Regions from separate parts of the Homo sapiens genome. Here region 2 is linked to region 1. Evidence: promoter capture Hi-C in human tissues and cell types (Jung and others, 2019). All regions are on one chromosome and are shown on one strand. Each heading gives the region's core, a stretch centred on a gene start or on the middle of the fragment in contact. The rest is flanking DNA. Distances are from core to core; before and after follow the strand shown.

Region 1 (7,415 bases), core at 1-2,500:
CGTAGGAATCTTTCTGACCCATACCGACCATGACGCCCTGCAGAGCCGAGACACCACGCACCCGTTAACGCCGCTCCGGGTGGCACCAGGCTGGCTTACGCGGGGACCCCGAGCCGGCTCCCTCTGCGGAGGGGCAGCCTGACCTGGTGTCGGGGGCGGCCCACGATGGACGGGAACACGGCCCTAGGGGCGTCATCCCCGGCGAAGCCGGCTTTCACCAGGCCGGAGCCATTGTCGCACACGAGGGCGGTGGTCTCGTCTTCGTCGCACATTGTGTCTAGTTTCTGCAAGGACAGGGAGACCGCGAAGAGGCGCGGTGCATCAGCGCAGAAGTCTCAGCGGCAGGGGGGGGTAAGCCTGGCTGGCCCCGACGTCCTCCCTCCCCAGGAACCTAGGGACATCTCCTGCCGGAGCCACTCAAATTCTGCCAGGGCGGCGACCAGGGGTTCTCTTCTCGACCTTTGCCCCGGCTAAGGGCTGCCCTGAACCAGGAAAAGGGGCACAGGGTCGCGAGACCCCACTGAGAAGTCCTCTGTCCACATAGCCAGGGGAACATGTTCCCCAAGACCTGTCTGCCCTCCCTGCCTGACACCTGTTCCAGGAGCTGGACGCTAGTGCCCATCCTCTCTGCGCCTCCCTGACCACATCTGTCACCTAGGGAGATAAGGCCTCAGCACTGCCTGCTTGCTGGGCCAGCGTGAGGGTGGAAGGAGATGCCCATGGGAAAGGCGTTGGCACCCCATCCAGGGAAGAGTGGCCTGTTAGGAACCCTGTGACATTTCAAACTCAGAAAGGGCCTTTTCGCCTGTTGGAAACCCAGAATGGGTGGTCCTGGCTGCTCGCTCATTCGCTCTAGCGCTAGTTTGGAAGGGAACTGCCTTGGCGACAACTAAAGCAAAACCGTTTATCTCCCTAGGCACATCCTACATGCCAGGTAAAGGAGCCCAAAGGGGCTAGAGAAAAATTTGGAGAAGTCTAATTTCCAGAGGCTGACTGTCTTGCCTCCTTTTTAAAGCGCGTGTGGCTCCGGAGACGAGGCACAGCGCTCAGGGCGCAGGCCTGGGGCTGACCAGGTGAACCGACTGGGTTCTGCCCCGGAGTCCTTCAGGTTCCCCTCGGTAGTGCCCTGTCCCCCTGTCCCCTCCCAACTCCTGCCCTACCTGGGCGGGTAGCTACAACTGCTACTCTCGGCTCGGGCCCTGGTCGCCGCGGAGGGGAAGCGAGGCTTCACTTGGCGCTGTCCGCTGCGGTGGCCGCTTGTCCCTCTGCTCAGGTTTTATATAGCCCGCGGGCATTCCCTCCGCGCCACCCCGCAGGAATGTCGCTGCCCTTCTCGAGCCATATTTGGGTGTTGGGCACTAGAGCCCCCTCCCTCGGCCGGTTCGCGGCCTGGGCCCCCGCCCGGGTCCCCTGCGTTGACCAAAGAAGGAGCGGGTTGGCCCGGTCCCAGGTAACGCGGGCCGGGCCGTATATGGAGTGTCTCCCTAGCGGGTTTGCCCCTCCTGACCCGACCCAGTTGCCCGCCGGAGGGGATGGGGTGGGGCGAGGGTCACCGCGTTCGCCGGTGGGTGCATGTGTGCGCCTGCGCTCCGGGAACCGCACCTGTCCCAAAGGCCTCCCCAACCATGTCCACTCTGAGCGCCCTGGGCGCTCGGGAAGGTGCCTGACTGCTGACTTCCAATATTTCAACTCCTCTTCGGGTTCTTTGCTCAGATCCCCAAACTCCCACTTGCGACTACCGGGAAGAGGGAGTCGTGTGGAGTGGTGGGCTTGGGAGGATTGGAGAAGCAGTCACTCCTGAGTCTCAGGAAGGGAAGGAAGGCGAACTCCCTCTCCTTTACGCCCCTGGAACTCCATTTCTCTCTTCCCACCCCCGAGCTCCCTGAATCCAAAAAGCTGAGCCACGTCGACCCCTTCCCCCACCGCACAGAGGGCCACCGGCGGCCGGAGGGCGCGCAGCTGTCGCAGGATAGACAACTGGCGGGGGGAGGCGAGGGCGGAGCGCCGGGGAGGAGGCGCGGGGGCTCCCGGGGATAGGCCTGTCAGGCGCAAAGCCTGAGCACACGGAGCTGTCCGCCTCAGGGACGCGCAGCGCCCTTGGGTCTCCTAAAGGGATTGAAGGGGTGAGGGTTCCCCTCCTGTAGGACGCACTGGCCCCAGGTTTTGGTGGGCTGAGGCCCTCCCCCAGCCTCTTTGGTGGCACTATGTGTGTCCCTCTCCTGGGGCTGAAAGACAAGGGTCACAACCCAGGACTGGCTAGACCTGGAGTGGAGGTGGAGATGGGTGAGGGGCTCTTCCTAGATGAGGCTTAGCTGGTCCTTCCTCCCAATAAATTGGAGGGGGTGGGGGGACAAGGACGCGGCACTCTAGGATGGGTGGCAGTTTTTCCTTCTGCAAAGGCTGAACAAACTCATCTTTATATTTAGAGGATGATGCCTGCCAAGGCCGGGCTGCCTCCCAGTCCACCTTGTAGTCATCATTTACCAGAGCCTGCTGCAGGTTCTATTTATATCACTGATATATGGGGCTATGCCTTTCAGATTTTCTAGAAGGATTTGGAGCTACTTATGGTAAAGTAGAGTGGGGGTCAGCAGAGGTTACCCAGTTGGTGCCTGTCCCTCTCTCTCTCTCTCTCTCTCTCTCTCTCTCTCTCTCTCTCTCTCTCTCTCCTTTTTCCCTAAGACAAGGACAGTTCTAACCTTGTGGAGGGCACAGGAGGAGCAGTCTTCTGTGATGAACTCAGGGACATGCTTTAAGGGGGTACATCAGTGATGTGGTGTGGGCCAGAACAGAATCACTCATTTTTCGGATGTGCTTAAGTGCTCCTAAAATAGTTGCAATTCACTTTTGGTAGTGGAACCCAGCAACTGGGACAGGTGTGGATTCTCTAAAAGGGGGATGGAAGCATATGCGACCCTCCTCTGTAGCCCACATCATGGCAGTTCATCCCAAAAATAAACAAGTATTAACAAAAATGTTCTAGTGAATAAAATGCTACCTTCCTAAAAATGATCAATTAAAAAATAAGGAGTTTGACTAGTATAGGGACTATGCGGTGAGGATAAAGTCTCCTATGGTTCCATATTTAGTTCTTCCAAGTATTTTGGAGAGTAAGTGAATAATTGACAGAACTGTATTTCCTTTTTAACATCCTGTGTCCTCCTGTGTCAGCGAGTAGTGGAGATACTAGAAAAAAACCACTTAGCAAATGAGCTGCATGTAACGTAAGGGGACTAGCTTACATTTGGGCCTTGAAGGTAGGAAATTTGCTGCCGTTCACTGGATACCTCAATATTTGTGCGCATTCCAAAGGAGAATGGGATTGTCACTATTTTTCAAAACTCTTGCTCAGTTCAACTCTTACCTTTCCTTACAGAAAGCTTTTCTAAGCTCAGTCTGTTACATTCAAACCCACACTAAAAGCTGACCATGATTAAAAACACTCACAAGCGAACAGAGACCTGCTAGTACAGCAAACTGTGGGAGATGGCCCCTGAGGTGGCCAGCCAGGCATCTGTTCCCTGCCCACATGATTTGCGGCTGGTTTAAATAGTCCCTGACAGGTCACCACAGGCCACCCTCAGTCCCATTCTGGTCTTGTTGCATTCTCATTGGCTTAGAGAATAGACTGAATGGTGGGTGGCAGAGCCACGTCTCCATACATGTATGTTTTGGGGGAGCGCAGCGGCGCCCTGCTCCGCCTTTTGAGAACTGTCACTAAGTAAAGGTCAGCCATGTAGGGTATGCTTGACAGGGAGTTCCTGCTTCTAAGTTTTCAGGTGCAGCCTCAGCTCTTCATACCCTGACCGGGCCCTTCTGCTACCACTACCCCGGTGTGTTCACACTTCCCTTCTCTCCAATTGTGCCCCTCAACACTCCACACACCCGTACCCCAATCTTGCTCAGTTCCAGTCTTCCTACTGTGTTTCCTATCAATTTAAACAGGAATTGGTAAAACACTTTATAATATGCTTTCGTGTTTCAATTAACCGTTTAACTATCCTAAGGTAAATAAGATAGGTATTACTCATTCCAGTTTTTTTTCTTTTTTAAAGAAAACTGAGGCTTAATGAGCTAAAACACACCCCAGGTTCCACAGCAGCCAGTGGAGGAGACGGGCTTGGGCTGTCCTTCCTTCTACTGCCAGTGGCCAGGGAGGGCAAGGACTGCTGCTTCTCTCTAATCCTCACCAACACTGGGTACAGTTCGAAACAGAACAGGCCCTTGAGGGATCTTTCCCAGTAATGAGCCAAAGACATCCTGACATGAAAAGCCGTAGCTTCCCCAGAAACTCAGCTTTGAGGGGCTGGCTGGGCACTCCAAGTTAGAGATATTCCAGGAACAGGGTAGACAAAGACCAACTCATTCTCACAAGCTACTTAAAAACGTCGGGTCGGCCAGGCGCGGTGGCCCATGCCTGTAATCCCAGCACTTTGGGAAGCCGAGGCTGGTGGATCACTTGAGGTCAGGAGTTCAAGACCAGCCTGGCCAACATGGTGAAACCCCGTCTCTACTAAAAACACAAAAATTAGCCAGGCGTGGTGGTGCACACCTATAATCCCAGCTACTCGGGAGGCTGAGACAGGAGAATCACTTGAACCTGGGAGGCAGAGGTTGCAGTGAGCCGAGATCCCACCACTGCACGCCAGGCCTGGGCAACAGAGAGAGACTCCATCTCAAAAAAAAAAAAAAAAAAAAAGTTGAGTCAACTCCTGGCAGCCCAAAGAAAGGGCTTGGGCTTGGATTTTCTACTTTTTCCTCCTCCTGAAGCTGGTGGTTTTTGCACTCATGGCCACCTCTAAGAACCTGATGATTCATTGGAGCAGTGCCCTCTCTTCAACATTCTTTATACCCAGAATATCATGAACTGGTTAGGAGCTTGCATTCTGGAATCAAGCAGAGCTGCATTTACCTTCCCCTCTGACTGGCTATGTGATCTTGGACAAGTGACTTTCCAGAAAGCATTCTCAACTCACAATACTCCTTAAGACTGATCTGAGGATTAAAACCAGGTGAGAGCTGAGTGCGGTGGCTCACGTCTGTAATCCCAGCACTTTGGGAGGCCCAGGTGGACAGATCACTTGAGGTCAGGAGTTCAACACCAGCCTGGCCAACATGGTGAAACCTGGTCTCTACTAAAAATACAAAAAAATTAGCTGGGCATGGTGGCGGGTGCCTGTAATCCCAGCTACTAGGGAGGCTGAGGCAGGAGAATCTCTTGAACCCAAGAGACAGGCTGCAGTGAGCTGAGATTGCGCTACTGCACTCCAGCCTAGGAACAGAGCAAGACTCCGTCTCAAAAAACCAAAACCAAAACCAAAAACAAAACAACAAACTAGGTGAGTACCTAAGACATATGAAACATTCAGCACATGGTGCCATGTCTTGCTTCCAATGACTAAGGGCTTGGGGCAGGTGCACACAGTGCAGTGGCAGAAAAGGTGAGAAAAGAACATTAAAGTCATTGGCCTGCTCAGTATACACACATCAATGTCACTGCAACTGAGCAAGGAGAGTCAATGTCATGTTCACCGTATTTGGAGGGCATAAAGATTTTTGTACAAAGATTTATTCTAGCATTATTTAAAATGGTCAAAAAAATGTGTCTTTTGAGAGAGAGCTACAGCAAGAGAATAAGGGCTGTTACATTAATTATGGTTCTGCCATATGGTAAAGTATCACGCATTTAAAACATTGTATTCTAAATAATAATTAAGATGGGCATTCTCAAAGGGGGAAAACTTGGTTCTTAGAGAGTGAAAAAAATTCAGATAGTACAATGGTTTATGGCTTCCAAAGGCCACAGTACATTTAAAAGATAGTCGGCCAAGTGTGGTGGCTCACGCCTATAATCCCAGCACTTTGGGAGGCCGAGGCAGGCAGATCACCTGAGGTCAGGAGTTCTAGACCAGCCTGGCCAACATGGTGAAACCCTGTCTCTATTAAAAATACAAAAATTAGCCAGGCATGATGGCGGGTGCCTGTAATCCCAGCTACTCGGGAGGCTGAGGCAGGAGAATTGCTTGAACCCAGGAGGCAGAGGTTGCAGCGAGCCAAGATCGCGCCACTGCACTCCAGCCTGGGTGACAGAGCAAGACTCCATTTCCAAATGAATGAATGAATGAATGAATGAATGAATGAATGATATATAGTAGGTCTGTGGTATTACACTTTCTTTGGAGTGGGAGGTGATTAGGAAAAACTGTCTAAAAAGGCTCCTCAGGAGGGGTGATAAAAAAAAAAAGGTCAAGAAACACTGGATTAAGGATACAGCAAAATGCTCACATCTCCCATGAGAAAAGTAGGTTACAAAATGAAAAAGCATATGCAGTCCAAAAGTCTATTTCATAATGGTGACTAATTATTTCCAGCTGGTGGGATTACAGAGGTCTATTTTCTTTTTCATTTTCTACAGTGTTTTTCTTAAAATTTAGAATTACATAATATTATTTGAGACAGGGTCTTAATCTGTCACCCAGGCTGGAGTGCAGTGGTGTGATCATGGCTCACTGTAGTCACAAACTCCTGGGCTCAAGCAATCCTCCCAACTCAGCCTCACAAGTAGCTAGGACTACAGGCACACATAACCATGCCTGGCTAATTTTTGTAATTTTTTTTGTACAGACAGGGTCTTGCTGTGTTGCCCAGGCTGGTTGTGAATTCCTCAGCTCAAACGATTCTCCCATCTTGGTCACCCAAAGTGCTAGGATTACAGGTGTGAGCCACCATACCTGACCCAGTATTATTTTTTTTAAATGTATCTTGGTTTTTAATGAGTGGATTTGTTTACACGGGTGTGTGTGTGTGTATATATATATATATATATATATTTTTTTTTTTTTTTTCACGCATCCTCAGGATAAAATGTCAGGAACAGGCTACACTGCTTTTGTAGTTAGCCTCAAAATGTCCAGGTGTGTAGGATGTAGGTGGGTGATGGTAGGAAAACTACGATTCAGCCCCTAAAGTAAAAAAAGAAACACAGTTCAATCATTAAAAATGAAAGCCCTCAAAGAGAGGCGTCAGTAGCCTTTACCTCACTCAGGAGTTCAGCAAGTTTTTACTGTCTATCTCCAGGTCTGCTGCAATCCTTGACACCATTCTGTCCACAAATCCTCCAGACGCGCCAGTCTCCATGCCTGCGTACACTCCCCTCTGCTCAGGATCGCACACGACACTTTACTCTTGTATTCTGTCAAGGTCCCAAGCTGGGACTCTCAGGGCAGCACTTATAGACAGGTGTGATCACGAACCTTTTCCAAGTCAGTAAAGTATCTCTTTCCACAGAAATGTCAACACAGCATCTGTATACTTATCAGCTACTTGATTTATATAAAAACCATTAATAACTCGTTGATGAAGACTACGTTGTGAAACCAATTTTTAAAATTCTAGAGAAAAAATTATTCAAAATC
Region 2 (6,880 bases), core at 3,329-5,828, 410 kb before region 1:
AAAAGGGCAAACTCACTTAAGAGTAATAAGTAATGGCTTCTATCTAAATCCTCCTGTGGAGAGGGGGGGTGCAGAGAAAAAAGAGTTACTAGAAAATTCTCAGTTGCTCTGAATTACGCGCCTCCTTCAGTAACTTTAGAAAAACTGAAAGAATAAACAAAGCCCTGAAACCAGCTTCAAATGATCTCGGGCTGTTTCACCGACGTGCTGACTGAGTTCATAAGCTAGCGCCTTCTTTACGAGATAACCTGTCCAGTGAATAAAGGAGGGCTTCAGCCAACGCTGGGGAGGAGCAACGGGAAAGGATGGGATGGGTTGTTCCCATCAGCACAGCCTGAACTTTCACACACCCCGCGCGCCCTGCTTTGTGAAAGACTGAAGGGCATTTAGAGACATGGCCCAGTTCTAGCAGCCAGCTCAGGGGGAATGTAAGAGGACACCGTGTCAGGGCCAAAAACCCCATTTCTGCCTGCGTGAAGGAGGTTCCAGCAGCAGCTGCAGATAGCTGGGAGGACTGTGTGGGCCACCTAAGGACACATCAGATCCTGGCAGTGGAAGTGGGGCAGGGTCGGAGGGGAGTCTGGACTGGTCTGGGCAACAGAATGAGACCTACTCTCCTAAAAAAAAAAAAAAAGAAAGAAACAAATAATGTTAACTTTAGAAACATTTTATTTAACCCAATATAGCCAACATATTATCATTTCAACCCATAATCAATATAAAAAGTGTTTTATTTTCAGTATGTATTTAAGGTGTACAACCTGATATTGATATACATATATGTAGTGAAGTGATTACTACAGTCAAGCAAATTAACATGCCCATTATCCATATAGTTAGCTACTCTGTGTGTGTGTGTGTGTGTGTGTGTGTGTGTGTGTGTGGTTAAGTGTATCTAAAATCTACCCTCTTAGCAAATTTCCAGTATACAACACAATACAATATTATTAACTATGGTCCTCATGTTGTACATTAAATCTCTTAGACTTACTCATCTTACATAACTGCAACTCTGTACCCTTTGATGGACAACTTCCCATCCTCCCTGCCCTCTCCACCACTGCCCTCAAAATTGTTAATATGAAGGGCACTGTGGCTCATGCCTGTGGTCTTAGCACTTTGAGAGGCTGAGGTGGGAGGATCACTTGAGCCTAGGAGTTTGAGACCAGCCTGGGTGAACTGGCGAAAACCCTGTCTCTACAAAAAATACAAAAATTAGCCAGGTGTGGTGGCATGTGCCTGTAGTCCCAGCTACTCAGGAGGCTGAGGTGGGAGGATCACCTGAGCCCGGGAAGGTCGAGACTACGGTGAATCGTGATTGCATCACTGCATCCCAGCCTGGGCAAGAGTGAGATCCTGTCTTAAAAAATTAATAAATAAAAAGTGTTAATGTGAAGTTTTATGTTCTTCTTTTTGCCCTATCTTCCTAACTTGACATGGATTTTACCCTTACAGCACGTCTCAGTTTAGACCAGTCCCAGTTTAAGTGCTGGATTGCCACAGGGGTCTTGGGGCTCCACATTGGACTCTGAAGTTGTAAAGTATTCTGTTGCATAAATCCACCAGAATTTGTATCAAGGAAAAAAGATGATAAGCGAAAGTGGAAGAGATTGATTTTTTATGGCAGAACTTCTCAGAGCTCTCAGTAGCATAAAATACGTTGTGAAACTCTAGGATGACAAAGCAGGCACTAGCATTTGTCAAATGAGAAATGATTAAATGAACCTTGCTTATGCAAATGGATGAGAATTGGAAAAACACATGACAAAATAAAAGTTGGACTGAGCGATTCGATTTGAAAAAATTTCAGGTTATGCCACATAGATGTACAGTAAATGAAAACTATTTTTTGGCTGGGCACAGTGGCTCACACCTGTAATCCCAGTGCTTTGGGACGTCAAGGCAGAAGGATCCCTTTAGCCCAGGAGTGTGAGACCAGCCTGCGCAACATAACAGACTTATTTTCTACAAAAAATTTAGCTGAGTGTGGTGGTGCACACCTGTAGTCCTAGCTACTGCAAGGCTGAGGTGGGAGAATCACTTGAGCCCAGGAGTTCAAGGTTTCAGTGATCTATGATCACCCCACAGCATTCCAGCTCCAGCCTGAGTGACAGAGCAAGACCTTGTCTCTATAAGAAGAAGGAGGAGGAGGAGGAGGAGGAGGAGAAGGAGAAGCAGCAGAAGCAGCAGAAAACTCTTTTTTAAACTTGTTTGTCTCTGAGAAGGGAAACAAGCTAAATGCTATTGGTCAGTAATAACTTGGTAGAAATGCCCTCGGCTGGAATTTTCAGTGCCACAGCAAGTGGAGAGCCAGCATGATGGAGACTGGGCTGATGCAGGGGACTAGGGAGAGGCGGGAGCACCCACTGTGCAGGTAGCTGGATGCGACAAGCATGGTCTCACACTCCTCCTGCTTGCTCTGCGAGTGCCACTTGTGCTCGATTGAGCTGCCCTTCCCCAGGTCCCTCCATTTCTAGCTCCCGTTTGCCACTTAGCCACTCCCTGGCATATTTCAGGCCCTGTCTCAGTCTGCCCACAGCCAGGTCCCCACTACTACTTTGTGGGGACACTGCTGTTGCTCCTCCGTGGACAGAAGGCAATTCAGATGCCATCTCTGTGGCAGAGTGAGAGCTGCATGCCTCAGATCCCTGGGGAAGCCTCTCAGTGAGGCTGCAATTCCAGGTCACCATTTAGGGCTCCCATCCACAGCACTAACTGGCCGCCTTCTGAAAGATACTGAGTTTGGTCGTGTTAGAGCAACTTTTTTTTGAGGACCTCAAAGTGGCTTCATATCTCCATCTCCCTGCAGCCGATAACTTTTCTGGTAAGGCTTCAGAGGACAGAGATGGGGGCCCATCACAGAGACAGCCAGGCCTGTGGTGGTCCTGTCCTGGAGAAAAGGGTGCCTTCTGGCTCCCAGCTCTGCCTCCCAGATGGTGGCTGTCCCTTGTCCCAGTGGGCTCTGGCTCCCAAATGCTGAGCTCTGATGCAGCAGATGTGAATAAAGCCACAGACTGAGAGTGAATCTCTAACCGACACCTGTGCATGATCACTAGAAGGAGGCTCAGAGGAGACAGCCTTTCCCAGCAGGCAAAAGGAGACAAAGAGATGACTTTTCCATATGAGAATTATTTTCTGTGATTTAATATGACTCATTTATTGACTGCTTTCAAAACCCTGTGTTGCTGTGGTTGCAAAGGGAGAATGGTCACTGTCTTAGTCCATTCCAGCTGCTATAACAAAATGCCTTGGGCTGGGCATCTTCCAAGACACAGAAACTCCTTCCTCACTGCTGTGGAGGCTGGAACTCCATGAAGAAGGTGCCAAAGATTCCGTGTCTGGTGAGGGCTCATTTTCTGGTCCACAGACGGCACCTTCTTTCTGTGTCCTCACATGGTGGAAGGGATGAGGGAGCTCTCTGGGATCTCTTTTATAAGGCCACTCATCCAACTCATGAGGGCCCCACCCTCATGGGCTAATCACCTCCCAAAGGCCCCAACTCCAAATATCATCACATTGGAGGTTAAAATTTCAAAATATGAATGTTGGGGTGAGGGGGGGACAAACATTCAGACCATAGCAGTCCCCTTAACTTGTTTGTTTCTCTCACTTCCTTTCTTTGAAAGAAAGTTCCAATACACTGAGTGCTTCCCAAGAGCTCTCACACATAATCACACCATGCCTGCCATCCACTCTCTTAAGTACTACTGGTTTTCTTTACAACATTGATGGGGGAGAGAAGCTGGATTATGGAAGAAACTTTTACTTGTTTGTCTAGAAAATGTAAAAGAAGATAACAACAATTTTGAGCAACGGGAAAATGTAAATTTCTAAAAATCTTATCCAAGTGCTGGCAAGAAGAGGAACAGGGATTTATCTCTCCTCTCTGTCTGTCCCTGGAGCCCATGTTTTGTCCCCGCACCTCACCACCTCTTGCTCATTCTCCCTCTCAAACCCCTACCTGGAAACACGTGGCAATAATCTCAATTATGATAGCAGTGCAGAAGGAGGATCCCTATTTTACTGATGAGGTAAATGAATAACCTGTCCAAGGACAGAAACAAATAGGAAGCAGGCTAGGATGCAAACCTGGTCCCTGAGTGCATGACATCAGCCCAGCATGACCAGGGCAGTCCTAAGTCCTTCACCAGCCTGCCTGAATGGACAAATAAGTGTTCCCCTCCCAGCTCCACCACTGGGGACCTGACCCCTTCCCCGTCCTGCCTTCTTGGGATATCTGAGGACCAGAGAGGTAGCTCTCGAGACAAGGGCCGGAGGCAGCAAAAGGAAAGGGCGACATGGCCCGCTCTCACACTATCCACCCAGCACACACTGACTGTCTGAGAGCTGAACCCTCAGACTAAGGCACTCCCCCACTTTCACTTTGACAGGAGTTCTCTGCTCCTGCTGGCTCTTCTAGTTTTCTTGGCATTCTAGTCTTGCCAGGTGGCAGCACTTTGCTGAAACACTTGTGCAATCTCTATTCTTGAGCCGGTTCCGTGAAGAGCTAGCCTTGCCAGGCAGGCTAGCCAGGCGGGAAGGAGGACAGCCCCACCCTGTGCATCCTGAACCCACCAGCCTGGGACCAGGGGTAGTCCAGGCATGCTTGAGGTCATTCCTCAGTTTCCTACCCATCAGCCATGATCTCTCTCTGGCATTTCCACATCATTTGTATCCTTGTGTTTCTGCACCATCCTCTAATTATTTTTTCTAAATTCCTCTGGAAGAGGATTTGTGAACATTGCTATATCCCTAGTTCTAAGAATACATGAATTGTAACTAAAAAGAATTTATTAATTCCCAATTTACAAAGTGCTTTTCATAGATTGCCATTGTGCTGGTAATTCCTTTCCATTACTCTCCTGATTGTCCTCTAAATGTGCTAGCTAGCTCTTTCTCCTTCTGATTGGTCCTCAGTGAGCCATGGTTACATCAGGCCAGGGTTCCATCCAGTGGAGCTCCCAGTTGGGCAGTGGTGGGCACAGCGAGCCCAACTAGTCTGGTTGAATCCAGAGTCGAAGTTCTCCACCCTCCACTTGGGCCACCCACTGGGGACGGAGCATAAAGGGGTATGCCCTTATTTTCTTTTGTTTTTTTTTTTAACTCATTATTATGGAAAATTTCAAATATATATAAAATTACAGACAATATTTAATAATCCAACATATCCATTACCTGGTTTTAATAATTATCAACACATGGCAGACAGTATTTTGTCTATACACCCAGCAATTAACTGCTGCCTACCCTGACTATGGTATAACAAATACTAGTATGAACAAATATCATATCATTGCATATCTAAGTATTTCAATTGATAAGGGCTGTTTTTAAAAATATATGATTATGATAACATCATTCTTACTTTTTAAGAAATTAATGTTAGTCCTTAGTCTCATAATATACCCAGCCAGTGTTTGCATTTTCCCAATTGTCTTGTAATTTGTACTTCATTTGTTTGACTCTGGATTTAATAAGAGATTCATATACTGAGATTGGTTGATTTGTCTCTGAAGTTTCTTTCTATCTACATATTCTATAAATCCTCCTTCTTCTTCTTCTTTCTTCCTCTTCCTCTTCCTCCTCCTCCTCCTCTTCCTCCTCTTCCTCTTCCTCTTCCTCTTCTTCTTCTTCTTCTTGTTCTTGTTCTTCTTCTTCAATACAGTTTCATTCTGTCCCCCAGGCTGGAGTGCAGTGGCACAATCACGGCTCACTGCAGCCTCAACCTCCTGGGCTCAAGCAATCTTCCCACCTCAGGCTCCCAAACAGCCAGGACTACAGGTGGGTGCCACTATGCCCAGTGAATTTTTTTTTAATTTTTAGTAGAGATGAGGTCTCATTATGTGGCCCAGGCTGAACTCCTGAGCTCGAGCGATCCCGCCACCTCAGCTTCCCAAAGTGCTAGGATTACAGGCATGGGCACCTACACTTGGCCTTTTTTTCTTTACAAATTCTTATTGGAGAAGAAACCAGGTCATTTGTCCTGCAGTTTCCCCCAGTCTGGACTTGCTGCTATGTTCTTATGGTGTCATTTAACATGTCCCTCTGACCCTTGGATTTTTTTAAAAAGTGGAAATTAGATCTAAAGGACCTAGATCACATTGAGGGTTGATTTTCTTTTCCTAGGCGTGTGTTTCCATCAGGAATGACCTTGACTCTTAGGACCCTTGAATGGAAGATACTTCAGAGAATATGACTCCATCCAGGGCAAGGGTATTTGGTGGGAATATCAAAGGGAAATTCCCAGTGAGAGAAGAAGGACACTGGGGGTAAGACTGAAAAGTCTAAACTCTGTCTACCTCTGAGGCTGGCCCCTGTGACAACCACAAGTTGACCTGAAGCAGGCTGAAGTAGACTGTGTGATGTATTTTAACTTAAGTAATAGCAATTTTAGGATGTAAAGGCATCTCGTGTTGAGGCAACAGGAGGCCAACTTTATACATATTTGTATCTTGCCACAAACCCAGCATCATGCCAGGTGAGAAGCAAAGAAGATATCCCGATCTGATTTATTAGAGGCCTGTTTCACATCTCAATGTGACGTTTGTGGATGCTACTATCAAAATTTTTGTCCACATGTGTTTGTAAATATACACTCACAGACAACTTGTGACTTAGAGGGACACCGTGGAGTCTCACAGGCTTTAGCATTAGAGGGATATGGGTTCAAATCTAGCTTCTGCCACCCTCTAGCTGAGTAACTGTAGACAAAAGCTTTGGTCTCCTTGTCAGAAAAATTGGGATATTGTATCATTATTTACCTTATGGGTTGTGAATTTTAGAGAAAATTAGTATAAAATGCCTAGTATAGTGCTCTCAATAAATGCACACATGCTATCACTGTCTCAGGCAGTAGGTTCTATTGAATCACATTCTTCTA

What was found. Contacts are between HindIII fragments. The study calls those that stand out against the background at their distance.
Region 2: a fragment that was not itself captured here is called in contact with the fragment with the promoter of ACTA1 in region 1 in 1 of the 25 tissues and cell types used here (mesendoderm cells).

Annotation. Positions count from the first base shown.
Region 1 is chr1:229,432,844-229,440,258 of GRCh38, forward strand. It overlaps ACTA1 (actin alpha 1, skeletal muscle), which reads right to left and starts at 1,251. Exons shown (of 7, transcript NM_001100.4): 1 at 1,161-1,251; 2 at 144-284; 3 at 1-37. The coding sequence starts at 272. RefSeq lists silencers at 959-1,253, 4,725-4,925, 5,391-5,470. The HindIII fragment of the contact is 14,149 bases long and covers 1-6,256 here.
Region 2 is chr1:229,015,626-229,022,505 of GRCh38, forward strand. No RefSeq gene overlaps it. Among named protein-coding and RNA genes, the nearest start is that of LINC02815, 140 kb to the right of the region's middle. The HindIII fragment of the contact is 5,472 bases long and covers 1,843-6,880 here.